2 separate regions of the Homo sapiens genome follow, and region 1 is linked to region 2. Evidence: promoter capture Hi-C in 16 types of primary human blood cells and fetal thymus (Javierre and others, 2016). All regions are on one chromosome and are shown on one strand. The core of a region is centred on a gene start or on the middle of the fragment in contact, and the rest is flanking DNA. Distances in the headings are between cores, read along the strand shown. Region 1 overlaps KCTD16 (potassium channel tetramerization domain containing 16). Region 2 holds the start of NUDCD2 (NudC domain containing 2).

Evidence for each region. The method cuts DNA at HindIII sites, captures the fragments that hold promoters and counts their contacts. A CHiCAGO score of 5 or more calls a contact.
Region 1: a contact is called between a fragment that was not itself captured here and the fragment with the promoter of NUDCD2 in region 2, in 2 of 17 cell types (non-activated CD4 T cells and total CD4 T cells). The highest score is 7.2, in non-activated CD4 T cells.

Annotation. Positions count from the first base shown.
Region 1 is chr5:144,184,244-144,190,922 of GRCh38, forward strand. All of the region lies in intron 2 of KCTD16 (potassium channel tetramerization domain containing 16), which reads left to right. Among named protein-coding and RNA genes, the nearest start is that of KCTD16, 17 kb to the left of the region's middle. The HindIII fragment of the contact is 2,014 bases long and covers 4,197-6,210 here.
Region 2 is chr5:163,456,988-163,463,889 of GRCh38, forward strand. NUDCD2 (NudC domain containing 2) reads right to left here and starts at 3,115. Exons shown (of 4, transcript NM_145266.6): 1 at 2,875-3,115; 2 at 575-623; 3 at 1-93. The coding sequence starts at 3,063. HMMR (hyaluronan mediated motility receptor) reads left to right here and starts at 3,645. Exons shown (of 18, transcript NM_001142556.2): 1 at 3,645-3,751; 2 at 6,869-6,902. The coding sequence starts at 3,706. It also overlaps a transcript of CCNG1 not described here. RefSeq lists enhancers at 2,832-3,081, 3,832-3,891 and a silencer at 3,412-3,501. The HindIII fragment of the contact is 3,644 bases long and covers 2,386-6,029 here.

The DNA.
Region 1 (6,679 bases), core at 3,954-6,453, about 19 Mb before region 2:
AAACTTCCCACCCCAGCTCTGGCAAACACCATTCTACTTCTATTTCTATGCATTTGACTACTGTATATAGTATTATTCTTTTTATGACTGGCTTATTTCACTTAGCATAATGTCCTCAAGGTTCGTCCATGTTAAAGTCTATGGCACATTTTGTTTATCTGTTTATCACTGATGGACACTTGGGTTGCTTCCATCTTTTAGCTCTTAGGAATAATGCTCCTATGAATGTGGGTGTACAAATATCCACTTGAGACCCTGATTTCAATTCTTTTGGATATATACTTAGAAGTAGAATTGCCTGATCATATGGTAATTCTATTTCTAATTTTTGAGAAACTGCCATACTGTTTTCTATAGTGGCAACACCATTTTACATTCCCACCAACAGTGCACAAAGGTTCTAATTGCTCCATACGATAGCCAACACTTGTTATTATTTTCTTTCTTCCTTCTTGTAGTGCCATGCTGGTGAGTGTGAGGTGATATCTTATTATGGTTTTTATTTGCATTTCCCTGATGATTAGTGATGTTGAGCATCTTTTCATACACTTGTTGGACATTTGTATAAATTCTTTGGAGTAATGTCTATTCAAGCCCTTTGCTACAAAGAGGTGCATTTAATTAATCAGTTACTTCCTCTGTCTACAGAAAAATTTTAGTTAGCAACATGGTAAGAGCCATTTCCCTTGTTCTTTTTGATAAACTACATCACCATTATTTCAGATCTCAGTAATAAATATAAAATAATAACCAAAACTTGCTCTTATTATGTGTCAGGCACTGTTCTAAATATCTTACATATATTAACTAATTTACTCCTCAAAACTTCCTTATAAATGGATACTGTTAACTATCTTCATTTTGCAGAGGAAGACAGAGGCAGAGAGAGGTAAGTGACTTGTCCAAAGTCAAATGGCTGCTGAGCAGTAGAGTGAGGATGGGTACCTAGGAAGTTGATTTAGAGTCTATGCACTTAACCACAACATTATTTTGCCTCTCTGACACCTACTCAGTCTTTTAAAATATCACCTACATCTTTGTTATTGGACACCTCTTCTGTATAAGTTTGTATTTCAGACAACAGAAAATTAAATGCAAATTGATAGCATTGTAGGAAGATACTCATTGCCTCAGTGGATGCCAAGTCTAGGGTACAGCTAGCTTCAGATTTGTTTGAATTCAGTGGCTCAAACAATATCATATATCTTAATGGTCCCAGAAAATGTTCCCAAATCACATCTTTTTTGGCTCTGGTTGAGCTTCATGTCCATTGCTGTAATAAAAATGGTGGCAGGGAGTATAAAATGCTGTGACCAGTCTACCCAAGTAAGTCATGCACCTGTACCTGGAGCAAGGGTGACAGCAATACAGCCTGAAGCACAGAAACCTGGAGTAGGGGAGGGATAATTCTCATGCAGTATTACTAGACACCCATTTACATTTTATTGTTTTCTTGGGAGATAGGGAGCTTTTTTGCATTAGGAATAAATACATGAGTGAAATTACTAAGATTAAAAAAAAACCCCTTTCTTGTCATGAATGATTTGAGTAATAAAAAGATAATAACAATAGGTAACATCAATTTAGTACTTACTATATAATAAATGCTGTCCTAAGTATTTTACATGTATTGGCTCAATTAATCCTCACAAGAACTCTCTAAGTCAAGTGCTATTATCATCCTGTTTTACTGGTAAGATACCTGAGGTGCAAAAGTTTCTGGGTGTACCTGGAAGGGAATATGATAACTTGCCCTAGGTGACCCAGTTGATGAAGTCAAGATTTGAACTCCAAGTGAGCTTCAGAATCTCTTCTGTATTCTAACATTTGAACACCAGGCTGTCTTCAGAGCCTCTTCTATAATCTATCATTCATATCATAAGGTAGCTTACTTGTCACATATGGAAACTGTGGCCCACAAAAGAAACAGAATAATTCATCAGTTATGCTTGATGTTTGCTACCAGGAAAGACAGCAGAGACTCTCATATGGCCAACCCAGAAAACAATTAGAGTTTACACTAGCATCTAAAGTCTACAGTTATGTAAGAAAGAAATATGTAAATATGAAGTATATTCTACGAAGTTTGTGCTAGATCTCATTTTTTTTAAAAAAAAAAAGAAAAAAAAAAAAACTAATGGCTTATTGTCCCTGTTCAGAGCCTAAGGGAATTGGTTTAAAGTTTAAATAAAAAATTGTACATGCTGCCAGTCAGAACTATTCATCATCATAAGCATTGCATTTATTTTATTTATATGTGCTTTAACAATATTCTAGATTTGTAGTTTTAAAAAATAGCTGAAAAGTCTGTCTCAAAGCTCTCTCACCTCTTAAAAGAAAGCAGAAGGACTTTAAAAAACCAGTTTGTTTAAACAAGGCCAAACTGTTTTCCAGGTATCCACATTTTCTCCTCAACACATGCCCAATCCAAAGACAGAGCATCAAGGGCAATATACTCTATGTATGTTAAAGTTTTAATATTACCAAACTGATCAAGGTAAAGGATTATTAACTTTTTTAACCACTAGAAATGTAACATTAGCTGTGTAGCTTTTCTGGCCTCAGTTTTCTCAGCTGAATAATGAAGACAAAAAGAAACTGGAATAGGGATGTATTGATCCATCTATTCATTCAGTAACTCTTTATTCAACACCTATTATGTGTCAGGTTCTGTGCCAGGTGCTGGGGATGGGATATAATAATGAACAAAAATAATAATGATCCCTTCCCTCTCAGCGCTTACAGTGTCACTGGGGGAGAGAAACATGATTCAAATAATCACTCCTCAAATAGTCAAAGAACTCCTTAGGGCTTTTCAGTTCCTAAATTCCATATATACATAAACATAAAAAATAGTTCATAGAACACAAATCTTCTTACATGTTTATTTGAAAGATCTGACAAATCTCATTTATTTCTTAGACTCATTTTTTTTTCCAGATTATTAGCTACAGATATTGCAAACCACTTATAACAATTTTCTGCCTGCCAATGACATAATGCATTGTACTGGCTCATTATTGTAATAGTTGTTACTATGCATATTGAATGCAAATTTCAGGTAATATTTTAGTCTTCATTTTCTATTCATTCCTAGCACTGCCTTTCTATTTCTAACAGGGAGGGATTAAAAAATAACAGAGTCAATAAATTTTAGAGTTTCAAAGGTAAGAGCTGATTTCACACACACACACACACACACATATACACACACACATACACACAGGGGGCAAGAGAGAAAAAATGTTGTTTATTCTTCTAGCTATAACAAAATATCACTTGGGTTCCCCCTTTTCCTCAGATTTTAATTCTATTGATGAAGCATATACAGAGGAAAATATGAAAATGAGTTGTTTTCACTGAATCATTAATGACTTGAGGCTGGCAGTAGGTAGACTTCTTAATTGCTTAATTGTTTATTAAATTTATTCTTTAGCAGTTGATCTCTGGATTTCTTTGTGTACCCCAGAGTCTTGCTGTTAATCAAATATTCTGTAAAATTTTTGCTTTTGCCTGGAAAAATGATTCTACAAGTTCCAGATGTCTTAGGTTGTGTTAAATGTTTGAGGAAAGAAGGCTATTTATTGGAAACCAGCCAGGATCTTTGTTTAGATTATTTTTGCCAGCAGCTCTTCTACTTCAGGCTGTGATTTCATCAAAAAATATTTGCACAAGCCATTGCTTCAGTAACCACGTCTCCAGCCCCACCGGAAGTGGATGTGGTTAATCTAGTAGACAGCACTCTTCTGTCTGAGCCTAGCTTAGACATAGTAGACTGAAAAATTATGTATCTGGAGTTGTTTTTCACCAGGGTTGGCAAGAGGCTCTGATAATCTGCCATCATTATAGGTTTCTTGCTTCTTATCACAACAGCAAGGCTTCTTTGATGGGGTTGAGTCTAGGCAAATGTTTTGGTTGGTAATTAATTGTCCATATCTTACATTTCATCTGGATTTTTCTGTTAATGTGATCCTTCTATGTGTATTGTCCTTTGGTACTTACAAAAAGCTAATAGATATTAGCTTTGTACCTCTTCCAGATTTACTGTTATTTAGCAGTAGGGAATCATTAAGGCCGCATTCTCATCCTAGATCTGTTTTCTTATGTCTGTCAAGAGAAAGTACATGAGAAAATAGTCAAAGTTAGTTTTAAGAATGCATTTCCTGATGGAGTTTAGAATGATACATCTGGTGGTAAGCTTTCTCATCCTAACTCTTTTCTTTAACCCACAAAGGGTGCTTAACCAAAAGTGGCTAGGCTGATGGTTAGTAGGTAGGACATTTCAACCTCTGGCAAATTTGTCATTGAGCAGCATCAGTAAAAAGGTGGAAGATTCTCCACTATCCTCAAAACTTTTTCAATGACTATAAATCAAATGTAATAAAGAGGCATCTAACCAAAATAAAATTTAAGCTGTTGTGCCTAAGGTGATCCAAATATACATGAAGAGAAATGTATCAACAGATAAATAACTTGAGTTATGAAATAGGGGTTTGGAGTGGAAAAGAGTCAGGTGAGAGGTCAGCTTGAAAACACCAAATGGGGCATTGTAATATTCCTAATCAAATACTCACCTCCCCTCCCCTGCCACAAAAAGTTGAGAATCAATACTGAGTGAACAGCTTCTTTGAAAAGTGAATCTTTCTACAAAGAAGTTCCAAAAGAGAGATAAAAGATCAACTATACACAACATAATCAAAAGCAAGCCCTGTTGTCATGGTAAGGCCTTATATTCATGTGTAGGGTGTCTAAGTAGCACCAGTAATTTGCAAACACATTGATAAAGGCAATAAATAACAATGATATCAAAGGATGCACTTAGACATTTTGGACCCTCTAAGATATGCCAGGCTCTTTATACTTAAATCTACTGGAGTAGCAGTTCTGAAAGTATTTAACGCACAGCTCTTAACCTACTTGGAGAACATGTACTGTTTTGAAATTTGGATGAACTCTTGGGATCTCTAGAAAATGCAGAGCAGGTCACGCCTGTAATCCCAGGACTTTGGGAGGCCGAGGCGGGCGGATCACGAGGTCAGGAGATTGAGACCATCCTGGCTAACATGGTGAAACCCCGACTCTACTAAAAATACAGTAACAAAATTAGCCGGGTGTGGTGGCGGGCGCCTGTAGTCCCAGCTGCTCGGGAGGCTGAGGCAGGAGAATGGCGTGAACCTGGGAGGCGGAGCTTGCAGTGAGCCTAGATTGCGCCACTGCACTTCAGCCGGGGTGACAGAGTGAGACTCCATCTCAAAAAAAAAAAAAAAGAAAAAAGAAAAAGAAAATGTAGAGCAGGTACATAGAGTTTTGCATACAATTTCAGGGAATTCATGAATTTTGTGAATCCCGTTTGCAGACCTAGGTTAAGAATGGAGGCTTAAAGCAAATCGTGCTAGGTAATAAGGACCTTCACGGAATATAATTTTCCTTTCTGAGTAACTGTTGTCAGCCACCTTGTATCACAATACACATGCCCTTTAGTTTTTTCAGGTGGTTTGCCAGCATTTTTCCTCTTTTCCCTTATATTGGTCATCTCATTTTAATTCACATGGTTGCCATATTCCTTAGCCTTTTATGAAGGTAGTTAAGGTAGACTGCTATATTGTTATTTCCCTTCCTTCTCCACAGTGGCTTTAAAGAGTTTATGTGGCCTCTGTGTCAGAACTACTTATTGCATTCAGGATGAGGCTGACAACCCACAACCTGTGAAGACAGACTGGGGAAATCCACCGGAAAAGGTTTTGGAGGGAACTGCAGATTCGTTGTGAGTAACCAGACCCAGCGAGAGCAATGAATTACATAAGCACAAATGAATATGTCTGCATTTTGATAACCCTTCACCCCACCCGCAGCCAGGCACTTAGTCACTCTTTCCTCTGTGTCTCCTTAACGCTATTATACCTCTATTATAGCTCCTATCACTGCACTGGATTTATTTGTTTACGAGTCTGTCTCTCTTACTAGACTATGAGCAATTCCAAGGCAGAGTCCATGACTTATTTATCTCTGTACCTCAACCCAGTGTCTGGGTTAAGAGTGCAGGCTTTGGAGTCAGAGTGTCTGCACTCAAATCCACGTTCTGTACATTTGCGTAAGATCACTTGGGCTAGCTACTTGACTTATCTGAACCTTGGCTTCTCTCTCCTTCCGTTCTCTCTCTTTCTTACGATGCCTCACTTTCCTTTGTGCCTATAAGTGTCACACTAACAAAGCTTATTGTGAAGAATAAATGAAATAATGCTCAGCATAGTGACAGTCATGTAGTAGTGATTCAGTAATTGGTATCTATTATTATATCTATTAATATTACGATTGATTGTTGAATGAAAATTCCTTTCTTTACTATAGTTCACCTGACTGGAAAAAGCCTTTTTTAGCTTAAACTACTAAAGAACACACTTTTCCCCTACCTCTTTCCTTGTCCCCTCTGTCCCTTTGCTATTAATACCCCTCCCCAGTAACATAGTAATTAATATTCTATTTTATTTTTCTCCACTATATTTATTATCATCTGACATTCTATATGCTTATTCATTTATTGTCTAGAATGTGAGCTCTATGAAGGCAGGAGCTTCAGCTCTTTTGTGTTCATTGTGGAATCCCCATTGCCTATGGCAATGCCTAGCATGTGGAACATACTAAACAAACATTTACTGAATGAATGAGTGAATGGGCACTC
Region 2 (6,902 bases), core at 1,865-4,364:
CCGCTGCATATTCAGATTCTAGTAGAGAAGTCCAACAATTTGCTGCATCTCTCTTTGTCTTTGTAAGAACAATACGAACCATTTTTCTGTCCTCTAAAAAAAAAACACACACACACACACGCACAAATAAATTAGAGTTCTTCATCAAGTTGTTTTTTTTTTTTTTGAGACAGTATCACTCTCACCCAGGCTGGAGTGCAGCGGCTTGATCTCGGCTCACTGAAACCTCCGCCCCCCGGGTTCAAGTGATTCTCCTGCCTCAGCCTCCCGACTAGCTGGGAATACAGGCATGCGCCACCATGCCCGGCTAACTTTTGTATTTTTAGTATAAACGGGGTTTTGCCATGTTGGCCAGGGTGGTCTCAAGAAGTTCTTCATTAAATTTTATATTTCCAAAAACAACTAACTAATTTTTTCTCCCCCCACTAGGTAACTTTGACATACAACGGTTTTCAACACATTTCTATTGCTTTATCTTTCAAAGCTGCAAAGACAAAAAAGACCTAATACAAAAGAGGAAAAGATATCAAGACAAAATTATTTTAATTTGATGAATTATAGTAATTACCCTTACCCAAAGTCCATGTTCCCTCATCAGCTATTGTAGAATCAAAGAGTTTGCCCTGAAAAATAAACATATAAGGTGCTAAAAATACAGAATTTAATTTTTATAAAGTTTTCATGATTAAGATTTACCTACTTTCCTACCTAATCCACATCTTATACCACCACTTCACCATGACATTTATAGGTGCACAACCCTAAATTTTCTCCCAGCAGGTAAAATGGAAACTAGTTTACACTGCAAGGGATATTTACTATGGCAAAGAACACAGAGCTCTCTAAAGAAAGATCAGGGCTCCTTAATTTTTAGAAGATACAGTAATACTGACCACTGGCCAAATGTGAAATTAATATCTGAAATGCTTTAATTCTACCAATTTAAATTAACCACAAGAAGGGATCTCCTGCTAAAACTAAAAAATGTTGTCTTTTTTTTTTTTTTTTTTTTTTTTTTTGAGACAGAGTTTCGCTCTGTCGCCCAGGCTGCAGTGGCACGATCTGGCTCACTGCAACCTCCACCTCCAGGGTTCAAGCGATTCTCCTGCCTCAACCTCCCAAGTAGCTAGGACTACAGGCGCCCGCCACCACGCCCGGCTAATTTTTGTATTTTTAGTAGAGATGGGGTTTCCCCGTGTTAGCCAGGCTGGTCTCGAACTCCTGACCTTGTGATCCGCCCGCCTAGGCCTTCCAAAGTGCCAGGATTACAGGCATGAGCTACCGCACCCGGCAAAATGTTGTTTTTAAAGTAAACTTTTAAAAACGTTTTAATCTTTTTGTTGGGCAATCGGCATTAAAAAAACTTTACGTATTCCAGATTTGATAGATTAGTTGTGACTAACTGTTCACAAACTCATGTTTTTTAAAAAAATAAACAAAATATAAATTTAAAAGAGACTGCACCAGGCCCAGTAGCTCAGGCCTGTAATCCCAGGACTTTGGAGGCCAACGTGGATTGCTTGACCCCATGGGTTTGAGGCTGCTGTGAGCTACAATCTCACCCCTGCACCCCAGCATGGGAGACAGGGACCCTGTCTCAATAAATATATATTTTTTTTTAAAGAGAGAATGCCTAAACTCAAATCCATTTTAATTTGTTGCCAAATTTAAGTTATAGAAAGTGAAATTAAATGTCACTAGGAAAAGCCCACATTTTAAAATATGTCAAAATTAGTGAGAAAAAAATCCCACTGGTCTATACGTACATCAGAAATCCCAAATTCAGCAGCTACTGCTAAATTCCGAAAGTTACTGGATTTACTAATTTATAATCGTAATCTAAAACCATTGTTGAGGAAACTATGAATTGTACAATTCAGAAAAGTAACTGAGATCCAAGCTGACATAATGTCTTTCACACGAATCTTGAGGCACTCAAAGCACCTCCATATACTGTAATATATATAATAGCTAATAGCTAACATATAGTATGAACTTATTACATACCAGTGAATACTCCAAGCTCTTCATACACGTGAATACCATGTTAAGCTCAAAACAATCCCATGAGAAGGGTACTATAACTACCTTATCTTGTGGATAAGGAAGATATAGAGACACTGAACAATCTCTCGCCCAAGTTTACAAAACTAGGAAACAAGTAGTCTCCCTTCACCATATTACACTGCCATCAAACATCTTGGGCATCTAACCTGAGAACTAAATCTAATTTCAACCTGTTAGTTTAATTATACACTTAACAAAGAAAAAGCGGGTCCAGATCCAAAGAGCATTGGTGAAAAGAAATAAAAGGAGTACTACTTATTTTATGCACACACCTCTTCACCACCTGCTTGACCACTCCACAAACATGCAGGATTTTCAAGCTTTTAGATGAGAAAACTAATCACCTGACATCATCTCTAAATTCTCTGCCCGTTATTCTATCCCTATTTTCTTTGTTGTCCTTTCCTATATTTATCTATTTATGAATTACGCTTCCGTACAGGAGCTTAACCTCTCCACTGCAGGTACGTTATCTGTTGTCTTCCTGCCTGTCTTCAGTGCACGGAAGAAATATTTGTTCCTTTAGCAACCTAGTTAATCTGTTCCCAGCTGAAGCCCGTCAGAGAAGCAGAAGCAGCAGTCTTAGTTTGAAAACTAAACACGAAAATAGGCTCCTCAAATTTCCACAACTCAGCACCTGCCCTGAAGAGGCGGGGGCTCTGACCAGACCCAAACCTGGTCAGTGTTATCCTCTTTCTCTTTCTGCCAGCCACAGGAGCCGTCGGGACACCCAACAGTCGTTCAGGGAAACGGGGCTGGGGGCGTCTGGGAAGAGGAAACTGAACACAAGCCCCGAGCTGCCGCTACCTTGAGGATCTCGCGGCCGCCCACCGACAGCGCCACATGCCGGCTCTGGAGGCCGCACTGGATATCCTGGGCGCGCGTGCCTGGCGGCACCTGAACTTCAATGAACACCTCCTCCAAGGTCTGGTACCACTGGCCCCACGGGGTCCCGCACGGTACCACCCCACTCCGCTCCTCAAACGGGGCCGACATAATCCAGTCCCTCCCGGCCGCGGCCGCACCAGGCGGAGCCGAGCGCACGCGCGGAATCCCACGCTTAGGCTACGCCTCGGCCTCTCCGCTCGGGTCACTGCGCATGCGCAGGAACGCAAGCTAGCGCTTTGGTGTGCGTGTTCGTTTTTCCCTTTGAATGGCCGTTTACGGCACCGGCAGGCCCCGGATGAAAGAACTGAAATCCAGAAAAGTTCACATGCAACGAACAATGGGACAGAATTGGAACCAGTGAAGCCGGAACTCACTACACCGTCCCCTAAGTGACGCCAAAATGCACTTTCTAACGTCTCCGGAGGGAAGTGCGCTTGCGCAAATGCTAGGTTACACTTGAGTAACTCCGGGAATGACTGGGTGGGTGGGGCGGGGAACAGTAACGGTCTCCTATTGGATGGCAGCCTAAACTCGCAGGCCAGCTAATTGGACGCAATCAGAACCCAGCATTCTTTCTTCGTGTTCCTGTGCGGGATTGGTGTGCCCAGGGGTTTGGCTTTCCAATTGGCTAACGCCGGGGTGGGTGGGGAATGTGGGGAGATTTGAATTTGAAACCGGTAGGGAGTGATAATCCGCATTCAGTTGTCGAGGAGTGCCAGTCACCTTCAGTTTCTGGAGCTGGCCGTCAACATGTCCTTTCCTAAGGCGCCCTTGAAACGATTCAATGACCCTTCTGGTGCGTAAGGGGGAAAGAGCTGGGGGACGGGAGACGCCCTAACGCCCTTTGCCTCTTTCAGCTCCCTTCTTGGGAGGCAAGCAGGAGGCGATTTTAGGGTCGGGCTGGGGCTCATTCAGTTGATTGATTTTTCTCAAATATGCTCTAAGCATCTGTTACATGCCAAGCACTAATCAGGATGCTAAGGATACCGCAGTGAAACAGTCTCCGCCCCGTGGGGCTTACATTCAGGCGGGGAATACTGTCAATAAACAGCGGTAATGGAGAAACTACAGCAGGGCGAAGGGAATGGACCCGAGACGTTGGTAGCTACTTGATTTTCAAGTCCGAGAGGGCCTCACTGATAAGAACACTGGAGTATTACTTGTAGTCTGAACTTGTGCATTTCTTTTGTGTATTCCATTTGGGCATAAAAGAAGGAAGATTAGTAAAGGCAGTTTATGGGTGTAAAATTAGAGCAGCAGCACTTATTGAAAACATAAACAATGAAGTTATGGCTGATATTGACCACTTATACCTCAAGCACCGTACTAAGGCTTTACATCGATTATTAGTTATGTTAATTTCCCACCAACTCTAAGGGGTAATCCTATTATTATTTTATTGATAAAAAGACTGAGACTTAAATTTGCTCAGTGCTACATTACCAAAGTGACCGGACTGGAATATGAACCCAGCCCCCATCGTGTGCTCTTAACACCGCAATGCACAGCACAGTAACCAGGAAGCCTTAGCTGTGTTTGGTAGGCACTCATCATTTAAGATGCTGTATGCGGCCGGGCGCGGCGGCTCACGCCTGTAATCCCAGCACTTTGGGAGGCCGAGGCAGGTGGATCACGAGGTCAGGAGATCGAGACCACCGTGAAACCCCGTCTGTACTAAAAATACAAAAAAAATTAGCCAGGCGCGGTGGCGGGCGCCTGTAGTCCCAGCTGACTACAGGCTGAGGCAGGAGAATGGCGTGAACCCGGGAGGCGGAGCTTGCGATGAGCCGAGATCGCGCCACTGCACTCCAGCCTGGGCGACAGAGCAAGACTCTGTCTTACAGAAAAAAAAAAAATGCTGTATGCTGGGACTGTGCTACTAGATCTTGTTTATTCCTTCCAAAAGCCAAGTGAGGAAGGTACTGATATTGACCTCATTTTACAGATGAGAAAACAGAGGTTTTGTATCTTGCACAATCAGTAAGTGGTAGAGCTAAATATTAAAGCTCATGATTTATTCACTATCATACACTATTTCGTGGTTACTCATTACGTCTCTAAGTTTTGTCAGCCAACGTGTGAATGAAAATACAACTACTCACAAAGGAAGGCCAAATGAGCAAGTGAATCAGCACAAACTTATTTTCTTAGTTAAAAGACTCAAGGACCATATGATTTCCCGAGTAATCAAAGGACCTACTCTTAAGTTTTGTCAGCAGTGTGGCTTTAAGGTTTTTTTGGTTTTTTTGTTGTTTGCATTATAGTAGGTTAAACTGGCTTTATCAAAGATATAGTATTTCAGGCTCACAGTTACAGAAATAATACTAATTATTAATTTGATGCTTAATGTGTATGAGGCACTGTGGTGATTTTTCATATTCCAGTACTCCAGCCTGGGTGACAGTGCGAGACTCTGTTTCAAAAAAAAAAAAGCAAAAAAACCCCCAAAATTTATATTTCAACCTAAGATGTATTTTTATATCTCTACACATACATACGAAAGAAAAGTTTCACAAAACAATGCCTAACTTTGCAGCATATGAGTCATGCTTTTTCTATTGTTTTTACTTTTTAAAAAATGCTAATCAAGATCTACTCATGGGGCTGGGCCTGGTGGTTCACACGTGTAATCCTAGCACTTTGGGAGGCCGAGGCAGAGAGATCAGCTGAGGTCAGGAGTTCAAGACCAGCCTGGCCAACATGGTGAAACCCTGTCTCTAGTAAAAATACAAAAAACTAGCTGGGCGTGGTGGTGGGAGCCTGTAATCCCAGCTACTCGGGAGGCTGAGGCAGGAGAATCGCTTGAACCCAGGAGGCAAAGGTTTCAGTGAGCCAAGATGGCGCCACTACACTCCAGCCTAGACAACAGAGCAAGACTCCGTCTCAAAAAAAAAAAAAAAAAAAAAAAAATCATGAGTTCCTGTCTACTGTTTGACAAACATTTAGGGGACAGCAGTAGTTGCCTGGGAATGGTCCAAGCTCCTTGCTCTTCCTATTTATTTGCATGAGACTCTAGACTGAAGTAAATAGCTTTTCAGAGAATAGTATTAATCTATTTGTTCCCAATCAGCTAAAGCTTTAGGCTAGTAGTATTTTAATTACTTTAAGTCCTAAAGGCCCCATCTCAGGTCTGCTATGTGTATTTACTCAGAAATGCCTTCAAATCTGGGACTTTAGTTAAGTGAAATTATGCAGTATAAACTTCTGGAACATACAAATATAGTCTAGTACAATTTGTACTTTGTGTAACATTGGCTTTTTGAATTTCCTAAGCCTCACATTCTTTGTCTATAAATTATCACACAGGATTCTTGTGAGGATTAAATAAAATAACATCTGTGAAATGCTTAGCATAATGCCTGGCATTTAGTAAGTGCTCAAAAAATTCTAGTTGCTCTAGTGTGGTTGCTTTTCTTCCATGTGTTTGAATTGCAGTTGACATCTTTAATAGGTCTGATGTATTGATATTAGCCAGAGATGGATTATCACTATAAATTTTTATTCTAGGCTAAACATTGAGGGATAGACAATTTTAATTACTTTATTTCTAGAAACTGATAGTAGTTATCTTTGTGACTCTCTTCGAGTAGAGTTGACACCAAGTATTTTATTTGCTATATTCAATCCTTAGTAAGAAAGCCATATATTGCCTGTAATATATGATGTTCATCTCAAAACTGTCGTTTGCTCAGTTGCCTGTGTTCCTTTGACCCGGTTGATATAAAGGGCAAGATGATATTGTTCTTCATAGAGAGGCCTTCTTTGTAATATCAAATGGATGCAATTTTTTACATTTAAAAAAAGCAGTTTGTTAATGACATTTTTACATTTATATTCACTTTATTATGACATGTTTTAACTTAAGATCATAAGTAACATTAGATAATATATTAATGTTTTCTATTTCCTCTAGGTTGTGCACCATCTCCAGGTGCTTATGATGTTAA